Linked DNA regions of Homo sapiens: all the other regions are linked to region 2. The links are contacts of gene promoters, found by promoter capture Hi-C in blood cells and fetal thymus (Javierre and others, 2016). All regions are on one chromosome and are shown on one strand. The core of a region is centred on a gene start or on the middle of the fragment in contact, and the rest is flanking DNA. Distances in the headings are between cores, read along the strand shown.

Region 1 (4,177 bases), core at 715-3,214, 690 kb before region 2:
GACTAGTTTTTGTCTTTTATACTTTATTTTTTACTGTACCCTTTCTACATTTAGAAATATTTAGATACACAAATACTTACCATTGTGTTACAATTGCCAACAGTATTTACAGTAACATGCTGTACAGGTTTGCAGCCAAGAAGCAATATAGCCTAGGTGTGTAGTAGGCTATACAATCTAGGTTTGTGAAGTACACTTTGTGATGTTTGTACAACAGTGAAATTGCCTAATGACATATTTCACAGCATCATGTAGTTAAGCAATGCATGACTGTATTGGGAAGAATAGCCCTTATTAAACCAGATCAAGGCTCGTTGCTCTCTGTGACAATACAGAATTTTCATGTTAAAAAAATTATAGGCTGGGCGCGGTGGCTCACGCCTGTAATCCCAGCACTTTGGGAGGCCGAGGCGGGCGGATCACGAGGTCAGGAGATCGAGACCATCCTGGCTAAAACGGTGAAACCCCGTCTCTACTAAAAATACAAAAAATTAGCCGGGCGTAGTGGCGGGCGCCTGTAGTCCCAGCTACTTGGGAGGCTGAGGCAGGAGAATGGCGTGAACCCGGGAGGCGGAGCTTGCAGTGAGCCGAGATCCCGCCACTGCCCTCCAGCCTGGGCGACAGAGCGAGACTCCGTCTCAAAAAAAAAAAAAAAAAAAAAAAAAAAATTATAGAAACTTAATCAAGGGCTACAAGTGTAATCATGTCCATAAGATTATATACAATTCTTCCAAATGTATACTAATTTATTATTGTTTTTAGAAATGTTCCCCTAAAAGCAGTAGCCTAGAAACAAGATGAGTGTCTGCTCATCTTGTTTCTATAGCTATGTAAACTTCTAAAGAAAGAAGTGATTCCCAAGGAAAGAAAATTTGCTCCATGGTGCCAGGCTGTGTCCACCTAGACAGAACTAACTGCTTCTTTGACTACAAATGAAATTTATGTTGTGCCTTACTAGGCTCTGTGATACACTGGGAAAGTTGTTATCTCTTCCTTTTGTCAACTGGAGAAAAATGGAAAGAATTCAAATGTTTGATTCACTTTTGTCTTCAGAAAACCCAAAAACTTTTGGAAATTTAGTCACAGAATCTCAGAGAACAGCTACGCAAGTGGCACCTGACTTTTTGGCCCCGAGAATCCACTATAAGCCTACTTTTACAATGATGTGATTGAGAAAATACATAAAGAACAAATGTAACTATAAGTTCAGTTAAGCTTTTAACTGAATTGTTTTTATTACTCCAACAGTGGCGTTTGAAAAATAGTACAAATCTATAGGAGATATGTTGCTTTTCAAGTCTACAGACAACACCACAGACCCCTTTATGCAATCACCCAAGGTTCCAAGGACCCCATGTCAGGAGAACTGCTGATTTATACCAAATTACCCATTTTGCAGCTGATGAAATGGAGGCACTGGACCTTGCTTAAGATTCCTCAGTTGAGTTTCTAGAAAAGTTGGAATTGAAATCTGGGTCCCCCACTTCCCTGTCCTGGATTCCTTCCCATTTGCTATCCTGCCTCCATTGATTTGGACATGGGCTGTGCATGTACCTGAGATCAACTCTAGAAGGTGCAGAAAGTATCCACTCTATGGCCCCTTCTGCCTCCTCCTGGCAAGTTTGCCTCTGTCCATTGCAATGTCCCTGATGTGGGATATTTTGGAGTCTGAGCAAAGCCTCTTCTCTTCTGCTGCTGGTTTACTCTTCCCCTCTGTTCAAGGTACTGTATAACACCAGGCTTCTAAATACAAAAGAGGAGAAGTCTAGGAAAGTATTCTTTTCAGCCAGATGTTTCTAAAGCATTAAAGACCAATTAAAAATTAAGGAATAAAAATAAAAAAGAAATTCAAGAGTAACAAAAAAAACTTAGAAAAGCTCTCAGTGGGATGCAGAGTAATATCTAACAGTTTACTAAACCCCTAAACACATTTATGAGCCTCCTCCCTGAGGAGTAAGACTATAATAAAATAAGTGAAGGGAAATCAACATTTTTATGACATGCTGAGCTCATGTCATTATTCTTCTTTTGGGCCAAAGTTGATCATATCTGTGTAAAGTGTCTTTCAGAAAGGTTATCTCTCCCTCTCCCCCTCACTTAATAAAAAGTTTGGGTAAGGCTAATCAGGAAGTGGAAAGTGAGTATTTTGGAATATTGAGCTTCTACTCTAAGGAACCATCTGAATGTGATGAATTAGATTTTAATCCATGGAACCAGTAAAGATTTAAGTAGACAGGAGAGTTAGATATTAAAAAGTAAAGAGCCTGTGGAGAAAAGCATCTATGGAATTCTATAGAATATATTAGAGTTGGTGAAGATTTTTTAAAAATCTGGAATTCATGCTCATTTTGTTTTGGAGACCATGACTCTGAGAAAAGTGAATGGCCAGAAGAAAATGGTCCCCCATTTTAAAGAACTCAGCCATCGACTGGTGGGGCTCATTGGCTTCTTCATAGTGCATGAGTCTGGTTCAGTGAAGGGAAGAGAAATGTATCCAAGATGCTGTACTGGACTCAGCCAGTACAAGTACAACACAGTCTTACAAGTAGTGCAATATACACCTTCTACCATGACAGGAGTATGCTTTTTTTGGGCACCATCCTAAATCTTTACTCTCCAGAAGTTTCTAATTTAGTTTGTTGGGAGAGCTCATCTACCAATTGTGAAATATATCTCCAACTTTATAATGAAAACTGCAGGGGATGTACTATATGAAGCTTATAATGAATATCACTGGAAGGCATTTGTAAAATGAGATCAACCCTAGAAGGTGCTGAAAGTATGACTTTATGACTTCCTGTATGACTACTGGAAGATTTATGGGTTTCTTATAACCAGCCTTTCAGAGTCAAATAGTCTTGTTTCAGAGAAGTGTCAAATGGAAGGTGTTTTATGGGAGATTTAAATCTTATTTCTTGCGTTTGAAAAATCATTTTTATAATTCTGATCTGCAAGATTATCTTTCCTCATTCCCACCTATTTATTGCTGTTTTTTAAAAAAAACCTTACCCCACCAGGTACTCAATTGTATTCATAGGGTTCTATGTCTCCAGGACCTGAAAACACAGTTCTGTGGAAGAAGACAAATCTGTAGTTCTGTTGCCAGAATTTATAACGAGCTCTTTTTCTGCAAATTCAGCAGGCAAGTAGGACAAAAGGTAGGAGAAGAAAACACACAGGATAGAGAAGTCCTGGTTTCCACTTCTCTTTATGCCTCATTTGCGTTGTAAATTTACAACCTTCTGTGGAAGCAGTCTTAAGCAAAACTAATAGTAGAGACGTGTTTGAAAATTATTACTGGAATAGCTAGAATCCAAGAAATCTGGAGGACTTTTTGGCAGCATATGTGTTTACTTGTAAAGGAAAATAAATATTCAATTTTCTAGAAACTCCTCATATATCAGGACCCATTTCTTCTTAATGGAAAGCACCATGTTGGGTTCAGAAACTTGCCCTGCCTTCCAGTTCTGTCTTGCTTCCTTTTGCTAATAGAATAAGGAGTCTAGCTTCCCATGTTCTTTCTCAGCATCCCTCTGCACCCTTCCCCTGGGAACTTTCCCTGTGAATGTGTAAGAGGAAAGTTTTTTGGAGGTTAAATTGGTCTTCCCTCTTCTTTTCCTTACTCTTTCCCTGGCTCTCTTCCTTCCATCCTTTCACCCATATTCATTGAGCACCACTGTGAGCCCAGCATTACCCTATCTGGGATACAACAGTGAACAGGATGTAGTCTTCAAGGAGCTCACAGTTAGGTGAATGGGTAAGTAAACTAGTCATTCCACCTAGTGAAAGGAGTTGTAACCAGGATAGGGATGTTTAGGAGTGATTGTCCCCAAGTATTGTGTACTGTTGCTTTTGCTTTCTATCCTGAAACTTGAACATAGATCTAAATCTGCAAATTAAAAAAAAAAAAAAGACTGCCAAAACTTCATAAAGTTATTTTGTTAGGTGTACTTAGCGACCCACTAAATGATTGCTTTCACTATCTACTTTAAAAAGATACATTAAAAATATAGCCTTAACAACATTCATCTGAATGGTTACCTTTCCAAAATTGCATTTAAAATGCCTTTTGGGTGATGACAGGAGCCTAGCCACTCCCTGGGCTCCCTCCCTGCAAGCCTGCTCTGGCCCCACACCAGCAGCCTGATTCCTCCCTTCAGCTGGCTGCATCTCAGGC
Region 2 (4,509 bases), core at 1,483-3,982:
TACACTGAACAAAGAGTCAAAAAACTTAGGCTCTAATCATAGATCTGCTGCTAATTTATCTGGGACAATTTACTTAACCCTGAAAAATTTGTCTTCTTAGTGAGGCGCTTCGTTTCTTGATAACTTTTCCCATGCTTTGTAAGGTTCATTGGTGCCTAATATATTGTGATTCATCAGTTTTATCTTTCATGACTTTCTAAAGCAAACCTCTAATAGAAGAGTAAATACACAATTGCATGATTAACTTCAAGAGAAGATTAAACTGCCTATATATTCCACAAGCAAAAATTCCTAGCTCAGGACTGAACTGTGTCCTGCACCAGGAGCTTGCACATGTGTATAACATATTTTCTACATGTGTCCATTATCTGGGTTATATCCATTAATGGTCAATAAATTAGAAAAATCTGTGGCTGCCCATTGATTCTTAACATTTCAAAAGTGTGTTACCTCCAAAAGATATCTACCCCTAAACAGCAATACAAGAGATTTGCAAAAACACAACTATCTTCCAGTCTTATCAAGCACCATTCTGATGTTCTAATAATTTATTATAATTAGCAAATAGAAGTGTCTGTCAATAAAATCTAATAATTTTCCGATTACTGACTTTAGTCATTACATATATAGGCTGTGTATATGCCTACATCCATATTCCTACATCTAACAGTGCTTAACTGGCAGAGAAGAGAGGCTCATGAAATAGTTGTTGAATTAATAAAAGAAGCAAGACAAGAAGGGAAGGAAGAAAAAGCAATAGAAAAAGTTGGGCTTATTTTAATGAGGGTCATGAAGTTTTCCATCATTGGGCACGTCACCATCCACCTCCATTAGCTTATGAATCTTCCATAGGAAATATGTTGGGGCATGTGGACTTCCCTTAAATGTAAAACAAACAAACAAACAAACAAACAAAACCCCCAAGATATTTAGTAGAAAGACTTTCAGGATTTGCTCTGAAAGGAATAGCTCACCTTTTTGTAAACAGAGGCTTTCATTGACCAGTTTTCCCTCCTTGTTGACATCTATTTTCATCCAGCTATGGAGGTATTTCCTGGCCTTCTTGACCACTACTCTGGAGCCTTGTTTCTGGAGAAAGAGAGAGGCATTTTCCACCTCAAGGAAGCCTTCCTGATCATAGCAGGTCCATCGGGGTGCCTGGGAACAGCGGTCCAAGATGGCTGAGCGGGAGGGGCCGCGGGAAGAGTTGGAGATGGCCAAGCACAGTGCAGATTTAACATGAAGGAGCTTTTCATCCTCAGTCCACATCCACTGCTGGTTCTGGATGGTCCTGTTGCATGAGCCCACGACCACTTTCTCATTTTTGAAAAGACACTGTTGTTTCTGGACATGGACAATCTGAAACCCTTCTGGAAGATGAAAAGCTCATAAAGCACTATGTAGCAAATTATGAGGCCCATTAGAAAACGGAAGAACCCACCCACAAATGAGCTAAATAAAATCACTAGTTTTACTTATATTTTGTTATTTCTATCATTTCAAGTGAACATTCTCATATTTAACACATGTGATTTAAAATTCCAAAGCTGACGATATAAAATGTCAATATGTTACACTTAACTCCCCATCTTTTTTTTTTTTTTAATTTTCACATGCTTTAGGGGAAAAAAGCACACCTCTTATTGGAAAATGAAAGGAAGCTTGGAAAGAAACAAAACCATCCAAAGTATATAGTATATTTTAGCCCAATTAGTTAGATATGCTGAAGTTATGAAATGCTCAGCTCCCTTTTTAACCATTTGACATATTCGATATAAGCTTCCTCCCTTACCTTAAAAAAGCACCCCCTTTTCCAGTCTTTAAATTCACATTGCAGTATTTATATACAAATTTCATAGTTTGAATAACAATTTTTTAAAATTGCATACATTTATCAAAAAATAAAACAAATTTTCCCACTTCTCCAAGCACAACCTCCTAGCTAATTGCAGCCAATGAAAGTATTGATTATCACAAACTAAATTTCCTTTAGTCGTGGAGAGGAGCATTTCTCTATTTTATGACAATATCTACAGTTTTCTCTCAAATACGAATAGATTTTCTAAAAATCATCATGTGCCAGTGTAAGAAAATTAAACATCAAATTGCTAAACATCAGTATTAAAGAGCAAGATACTCTGGCTCAGAAACCATTTTCAATGAGGTTTTACTTAAATTGCCCAGCTCGCTCATGAAAATGTTCAGCCCTCCCAAATGACAACTTCCAAATAAAACACACTACATTTCCTCACCCCCTTTAATCATATTCCTTCAATTTTCTTTCTTCAACACAAAAGAAAATAAAACTATAACCGGGTCGGAAAAAGGCTTGGGGAAAGCCACAGACTGTTATATAATAATACAAACTTTTCCTCGGGGTTCTTTACGCTCTGCTCTAAATGTATCATTTCAGGGGCTGCCTGAAGCATTTGGAGGATGAGAGGAGAGCATTTATTTTCTTTTGGAGAGAAATCTCAACAGTATGGGCATAGCTGGCTCCTTTTATTCCTGCTTTTCATCGTCTTTGGCTAAACTGCCATGGAGACCTGGCCCCTTCTACCTTATTTCAGACACTTCAAAGACCAGGGACTCCTTGGCTAGATCTTGAAGAAATGCCTCAGGACACTGAGGCAGACCCACTCACCTGAGTTCCTGAAGATCAAGCAGGTAAGAATCACCATGTAAAATTCAGCCTCCATTTTCCACTTAGCAACTGTTCATGCTTCGCTTGGGGAAAAAAAAAATTCTCCCAGATAAGAGAAGCAAAGACTAGGAAGGAAATGTGCCTTCATGGTGGGGGGAAAAGTCAGTGACGAGCACTTCCTCCTATTGAATTGTTTGGGGAAGTTTTACACCAGTGTCCTTTTGTCTGTTTCCTTAGAAAGAAGGGATTATGATTACCTCTTTTTTTTAATGTAGAAAATATTCCAGCCTTCAAGAGCAGAGTAAATCTCGTTAAGACCTCACCTACCTTTCCTTTGGCATGTGACTGCTTCTTAACCTCAAGAAGAAAGAAAGGAATTGAAATCTCAGATAATTGAATGTTCCTGAAACATTACATCTCTTCAGGTGATGTGATTCTGCTGAATAAACATAAGCCATGTAATTGATGAGGGTCTATGACAAGTGATATAAAGACATAAACATGTACTGTTTGTATAATGATATGCTGCGAGTCTATTGAGGAAAACCACATAATGATGGCACTTCTAGATCATTATCTCCCAAGTGATGACAATATTACATTTTGAGATCGTCATCTTCACTGGGGAGATGCAGACACTAAAATTAAACCCATCACATTATCTACTTTGGTCTTCCCCAAACAGAGGATGGCGTCTTTCCAAATAGAAAAAAAAAAAAGAATATGCTTTACTCAGTATTTAGTATTAAGAGTTTATTGGCAGTATGAAACAAAGTCAACATTGCTGCATTAAAAATTCATATATGAGCAGAACAGCTAGTGTTTGCTGAGGGTAGTTATTTTAATTTTTTTTGTCTCTTGAAGATTGAAAGCTTTCAGAAATGTAAGGACATACATGGAAATGTCCTTATAAGGAGCCTCGAAAATGGGACAGATTATATCATTCCTGAAGGCATATACCTTTTGTTGAGAGAGAGATTCCAGGTAGATAGCATATTCAAAAATCCCTTCTTAGCAAAAGAGAGACAAGTAGTTAAAACTCTTGATACTTCAGAGTTGCTACAAATTTGTTTTTCCCTTTTAAAGTAAAATGACTCACGATGTGGAAATACAGTGGATAGAGTTCTGGAGCAGAAGCCACCTTTATGCCCAATAATAGAGAGTAAATACATATATACCCAATGACAATCATTGTGCTCTGTAATTGTTTGATAGGAGGGACTATAAATACACATTTAATAGGTAATATTATCAAGACACATTTCCATATAAAATAGTTACTGTTTTTGATTTTTGTTTTTCAAAAACAAAGACTTCTCTGTTAAAAATCCATTATCAATCACTTGCAACTTTAGCAGCAAGATTCTGGTAACTGAGAAAGGTAATAGCACTTCAAAACAGGAACAGTTTAACAGCTGACAGTCCATTCACAAGACAGATTTTGCAAACATTAAAGCATCTAACACATAATACGAATGTCTTCAGCAGCTCATCCAGTCATCACCTGATGACATTTATTACTGAATATTACATACATACATTCTGTGTGGCAGATAGAGTCAGTACAGACAAAACAAAATCTGCCTTAGGCTGTGTGATAAACCTATCATACCTCCATCATCAAAAAACCTTCAGAATAATTTGGGGGATGCTTACAAATGCATTCATATACACAAGGAGCTGGAAATCTTAAATATGTTGCCCAGTCTTCCACAATCCATGCCATACATGGGCTTCAGAGCTTCTCCTTCCTTCCATTGCAGGAAGCTCCTTCTAGAAGCCTTGGGTGGGTAATTTGATTAATCACCCCAAGAGATTGATGGTCTGACAAGTCTTCAATGACTCACTGGACAGTCTCTGCTGAA
Region 3 (4,743 bases), core at 1,968-4,467, 670 kb before region 2:
TTATTTACCAGGGACTATGGCAAGATGATACACTAAAACAGATTTGAATTCCTCTCCCTGTTACTGTGACTTTTTTTATTGCTACTATTTAAAACAACAGGATTATTATTATATATTATTATTATTTGGAATAATAGGTTATTGTTCTCTTGCCCAAGCTCATTTAAAACACTTCTAAATGACTTCCCATAGAAACTAGAAAAATCGAATGGCTTATCATTTGTCTGTTAGAGGATTCCAGAACCATGATAGTCAACTACAGCTTATTATTCATTATTTATATTTATATTGCTGCATTTAATTCTGTTCAGCACAACTGCATAAGTATCTAAATTACTTTCAGGTTAATTGTAGAGCATTTAATGAATGTTTCATATCATATCTAAACATTGAATGCAATATGTCAGCAATTAGGCTGCTGTAGTATTTGCCCTGATGTGAGCTGTAAGATCGTAGGCCTGTCATCGTATTCAGTTACCGAGAAATCTTTCCTTTTAAGTGTGGACACGCTTGGTTTTCAGGAGAAGTATCAGGAATTATCTACAGTAGAGAAGCTACTCAAAGTTATGTAAAAAGAAAAAGGCTCTTAGTCACTTCTTGGAGGTAAAAAACAAAAACCAAACAACCTCCCCCACCCGCCACCACACAGACACACAAAAAAAACTTCAGCCTAGATGAACCTGCACATATTCCTTCTGCCTCTGAGCTCTGTAATATGGTTTATTCATTTTCACTCACTCACTCACTCACTCACTCATTAGCTCACTTAACAAACATTTATGGAGGACTTTCGGTGTGCAGATTTTATACAAGGTGCTAGGATACAACAGAAGCGTGGCATCATTGCTGACCTTTTTGAGGCATCATGGACTAGCCAGGCAGCCACACAGTCAGCCATCACACAATACCAAACTGGAGTTGTGGCATTGACATTGTGCTGGGAGAGAACAGGAAAGGGGTCATAAATTCTGCCTTTCAGGTAAGTGAGAAAGAGGAAGCAGGAAAGGGAAGACAAGCAGGAAGAGGCATCTGAGCTATCTAGGTCTAAAAGGATGAGAAGGGTTTTGGGGTTTTTGTTAAACAGAAATAGAGAAAGGTAGATGTTGCATATGAATCAGTTTTTTATAAGAAAGAGTATGATTTTAAGTGCACCAGGAACTGCAAAGTAATTCCTACCCTCTCCCATCTTAAGCCAGCTCTTCTGTTAGTTTTACTAACAGGAGAGGCACTCTTATTTCTGAAAGACACCACTTCCTTTCCTCAGCTCCAAAAGCCAGCCATCTGTCCCAGGAGATTCAAGGAAACTGTGGGAAAAGCAAAACATGTTGGATGGAGCATGGGATGACTCAGTGAGCTGGCGATGAGACTGTGGGTGGGGAGGCTGAGCCTGAGGACAATGACTGATTCATCCCCAGGTACTGCTGTCTCTCTGTGCTACCATAGAGATAAAATTTGTGTAGTGAGCAAGGGCCACAAGTCTTTTGGTCACTCCACCCATTTATAAATAAAAAGTTTTCCTTCCTAAAGAAAGTTTACTTCTATTTTTAAGTCTCAGGTGTTCATGGTGGGAAGAGCTGGGAGAATCTAAGTTCTCCCTGCATGCCTTTCCCCTTCTTTTGGTAGCAGCACCCTGATTTTTCCTTTAGTGAACTCTCATGCCGTAGTGCTCAGTCTCTATGAATCAGGTGAGGCTGATACCATCCCATCGCTCCAGAGAAGAACACATGACTCAGGCTTTGGCAAAGACAACATTTCATTCCCTTGGCTACAGTGATTGCTTTAGGGGTAAGCATATGACCCAGGTTAGGCCAGTCACACTCATCCTTGGGTGTCTGACTGAAACCATAAGCAAAGAGGTACTCTCTGTGGACGTTATTAAGCTGGCAAGAATAAGCCTGGAGCTTCTGAGAACCACCTTGCCATCATGGTGGGCAGCCTGCCAGAGAATGAAGCCAACACAAATGAAAATAGAAGATATGATATGAGAAGGGCAGGTCTTTAACCAGATAAGAAATTTACATTTAAATTCCCATGAAAGTCCCCCATGGACTTAGCAGTTAGGTGGACTGCACATTTCCATTTCTCTTTAGTTAGGCTGAATTTGGATTTTGCCACATTGCCAAAAGAGTTCTGATGAATACTGGCTCTTATGAAGACTCTTTCAACACTTTGCAAGCAGGATGCCCAACTGGCTGATTCCAAATGCTGATACCTTATTTATGAGGTTGTTGGTTATCATTCAGGGTTTGGAAGGTGGCTCTCCTCCATTCCCTAATGGCTTCCCTCCATTTACCTCTCCTCCATTCCCTAATGGCCGCTAAGTCCTAAGTGGATATCAAAGACATCTTGTATTTGTATAGTGCTTTCATTTTACAGTTCTACAATTATTTCTCTCTCCTATTTTATTTTTATTTTTGGCAAGGAACAAAAACTCAAAGTAACTAACAAACAGTGGGTTTATAATATAAGAATGTAGAAGAATTGCACACCAAATGTAGGACGTGTAGCTGAGCTTCATGAGAACTAAGAGAGTCACTAGAGGCTAATCTCACCATCTCTCTCCTTAGAAGTCCACATGACATCTGCCTGCTTCTCTCTACAAGCCTGCCTCATTCTTCTTTCTTCAGACCACCTGTTCTGCTTGCTCATTTGCTTGCAACCATCATGGCCACCCTAAAATGTAGTCTTGGACCCCAAGTCTCCATTAACTTCCAGCTTGGTTCTCCAGGGCTAAATGACTCAGTATCTCAAGTTTTAAATTCCTATGAAAGAGAATCTGACTGGTTTAACCTTGCTCAGCTATCCATGTGGGGTTTAAGCAGCTGTGGCCAGGGAAATGTAGTCGGTAAGGCTACCTCTTTCAGGCTAGGGTTGGTGGTGGTGGATAGATTTTGTAAGTAGGGAAGAAAATTATAAGCATTTTCAGTAAAGACAGTGTATCTCATTTGGTCCTCATATTTCTGAGAGGCAGAAATTATTATTATTCCTATTTTACATAAGATTTAGGATAAGCGGCTTGTTTGAGGCTATACAACTAGGAGGTGACAACTGTAGGATTTTAAACTCAAGACTTTTCACTTCAGATCGCAAGTGGTTTCCTCAGCACTATTCTGTCAATGCGAAATTACATGGTCTCACTTTCTTGAGCATCACAAACATATCCAGTCTTGATTTTTAAGGATTTGTTTTAACAGCACTAACTTATGGTTTTAAATCAAACATAGCAGTGATCCAGAAAGAAAAGGATGAAGAAGAAAATCTGAACCATAGGTCTTGGATGAAGCCCTGTTATCCATTAATGAAGAAGTGAGCAAGAGTGAAAATCCTGTTGGGAAAATTTCAAAGGAAAAAGTAGTTGGTTAATGGAGGGCCTGTGCTTGGGGCATGTGTGTGGCTCACTGCTGCTGCAGGGGTTTCAGCGGTAGTTAAGACAGCTGGAGATTCAATTCCTAATTGAAAGGTTTGAGCAGTAAATTCTGCCAATTGAATGATGGATCTCATCATGAAGTATTCTGTCTGGGTCTTCTGTAAATATGGATAGCTGAATCTCAGATTTATAGTTCATGCTGCCACAAACTCAGACTTTCCTACTCTGTTCCTTACTTCCCATCTTTCACTAGACTTAGAGTAGACAGAGGAAAGCAAATGTTTGTTAATACCATTACAAAGTTACATAATTTTTATAATTTTAATTCATACGAATTGTGGAACTCGTCTCTAATGTGACCTACTCTGGAGGACTCATCCCTTTCCCCCATCCCACCACTCTCAAATCCCACCTTAAATAGTTCTGATGTCCCTGAGGGTCCATTCTTAGTTGTGATGTGACAGTTGCCATTCTCCTTTTCTCTTTTGTGGCTCCTTGGGGAATTATCTTTGGTCACTACCATTACCAAACTTAGTGGCTCACACATCAACACTTACCGAAGATGTCACAAAACAGGTGCTGCTGTTACTGCCATCAGTGTCTGTGCCTTGGCAGCTTTAGCCAAACCAGTGTTGAGGGCTCTCACTGCCACTGGAGGGCTGGGTCTGTGTCAGGCCTCCACCTCAAGGTGGGCTGTGCTAAGCCAGTTCTTTGTTGGCAGCCTCCTCTTCCTAGGATTCAGCCTAAATTGACTTAATGCCGCTTGACGTGGAAGTTGGGCCCTACTGTGTTAAAAATATCTCCCACCCAGAAGCTGCTTTTGTCCTAGAGCCAAGCTACTGGCCTCTACTTGCTTCTCCTGGGATAAGCGTTTTGGTTTTTCATGTACAAAGATCCTGGGAACTCACCTCATTTTCAGACATGCTTGAATCATAGTTGAATATAGATTTTAGAACAAAATATAAACAAATACATGTGAATATATGGGACACTTTCTGACAGGTTTTCCAAAGTTATCAAATAGTGTTTTATATAATCCCACCTCTGAGGTAGGGTAAAACTAATTCGTATTGGAAAAGCAATGGATCCCAGGACACATATGCTCTACTTTAGCTCCTGTGTTTCTGGGCTTGGAATCCTGGTGATCAGGGTCGTCCCAGGTAATGCTATGTCTTACACCCAGAGACTTTGTGCTCAGCAGCTAGACTTTCAAGGAGAGAGTGCTACTGTCCTTTTATAGACTCACTTTTTTTTCTTTTGTGACAAGAGCCAAACCAACCAACCAGATAAAAAACTTAAAATACCACTATTCTTGAGGAGCACACAAACCCAACTGGAATACTCCGCAGGTGAGACACTCTCCAGCTGAAAGATTT

Evidence for each region. The method cuts DNA at HindIII sites, captures the fragments that hold promoters and counts their contacts. A CHiCAGO score of 5 or more calls a contact.
Region 1: a contact is called between a fragment that was not itself captured here and the fragment with the promoter of PTPRB in region 2, in 5 of 17 cell types (naive CD4 T cells, naive CD8 T cells, activated CD4 T cells and 2 more). The highest score is 7.2, in naive CD4 T cells.
Region 3: a fragment that was not itself captured here is called in contact with the fragment with the promoter of PTPRB in region 2 in 1 of 17 cell types (naive CD8 T cells); the score reaches 6.4 in naive CD8 T cells.

What each region holds. Positions count from the first base shown.
Region 1 is chr12:69,945,347-69,949,523 of GRCh38, forward strand. The region is part of intron 19 of MYRFL (myelin regulatory factor like); the gene reads left to right. Among named protein-coding and RNA genes, the nearest start is that of MYRFL, 120 kb to the left of the region's middle. The HindIII fragment of the contact is 1,502 bases long and covers 1,214-2,715 here.
Region 2 is chr12:70,634,697-70,639,205 of GRCh38, forward strand. It overlaps PTPRB (protein tyrosine phosphatase receptor type B), which reads right to left and starts at 2,733. Exons shown (of 34, transcript NM_001109754.4): 1 at 2,645-2,733; 2 at 975-1,370. The coding sequence starts at 2,699. PTPRR (protein tyrosine phosphatase receptor type R) reads right to left here. Exons shown (of 14, transcript NM_002849.4): 14 at 3,383-4,509. The coding sequence ends at 4,488. The HindIII fragment of the contact is 1,737 bases long and covers 1,778-3,514 here.
Region 3 is chr12:69,965,264-69,970,006 of GRCh38, forward strand. No RefSeq gene overlaps it. Among named protein-coding and RNA genes, the nearest start is that of MYRFL, 140 kb to the left of the region's middle. RefSeq lists a silencer at 1,612-1,812. The HindIII fragment of the contact is 8,608 bases long and covers 1-4,743 here.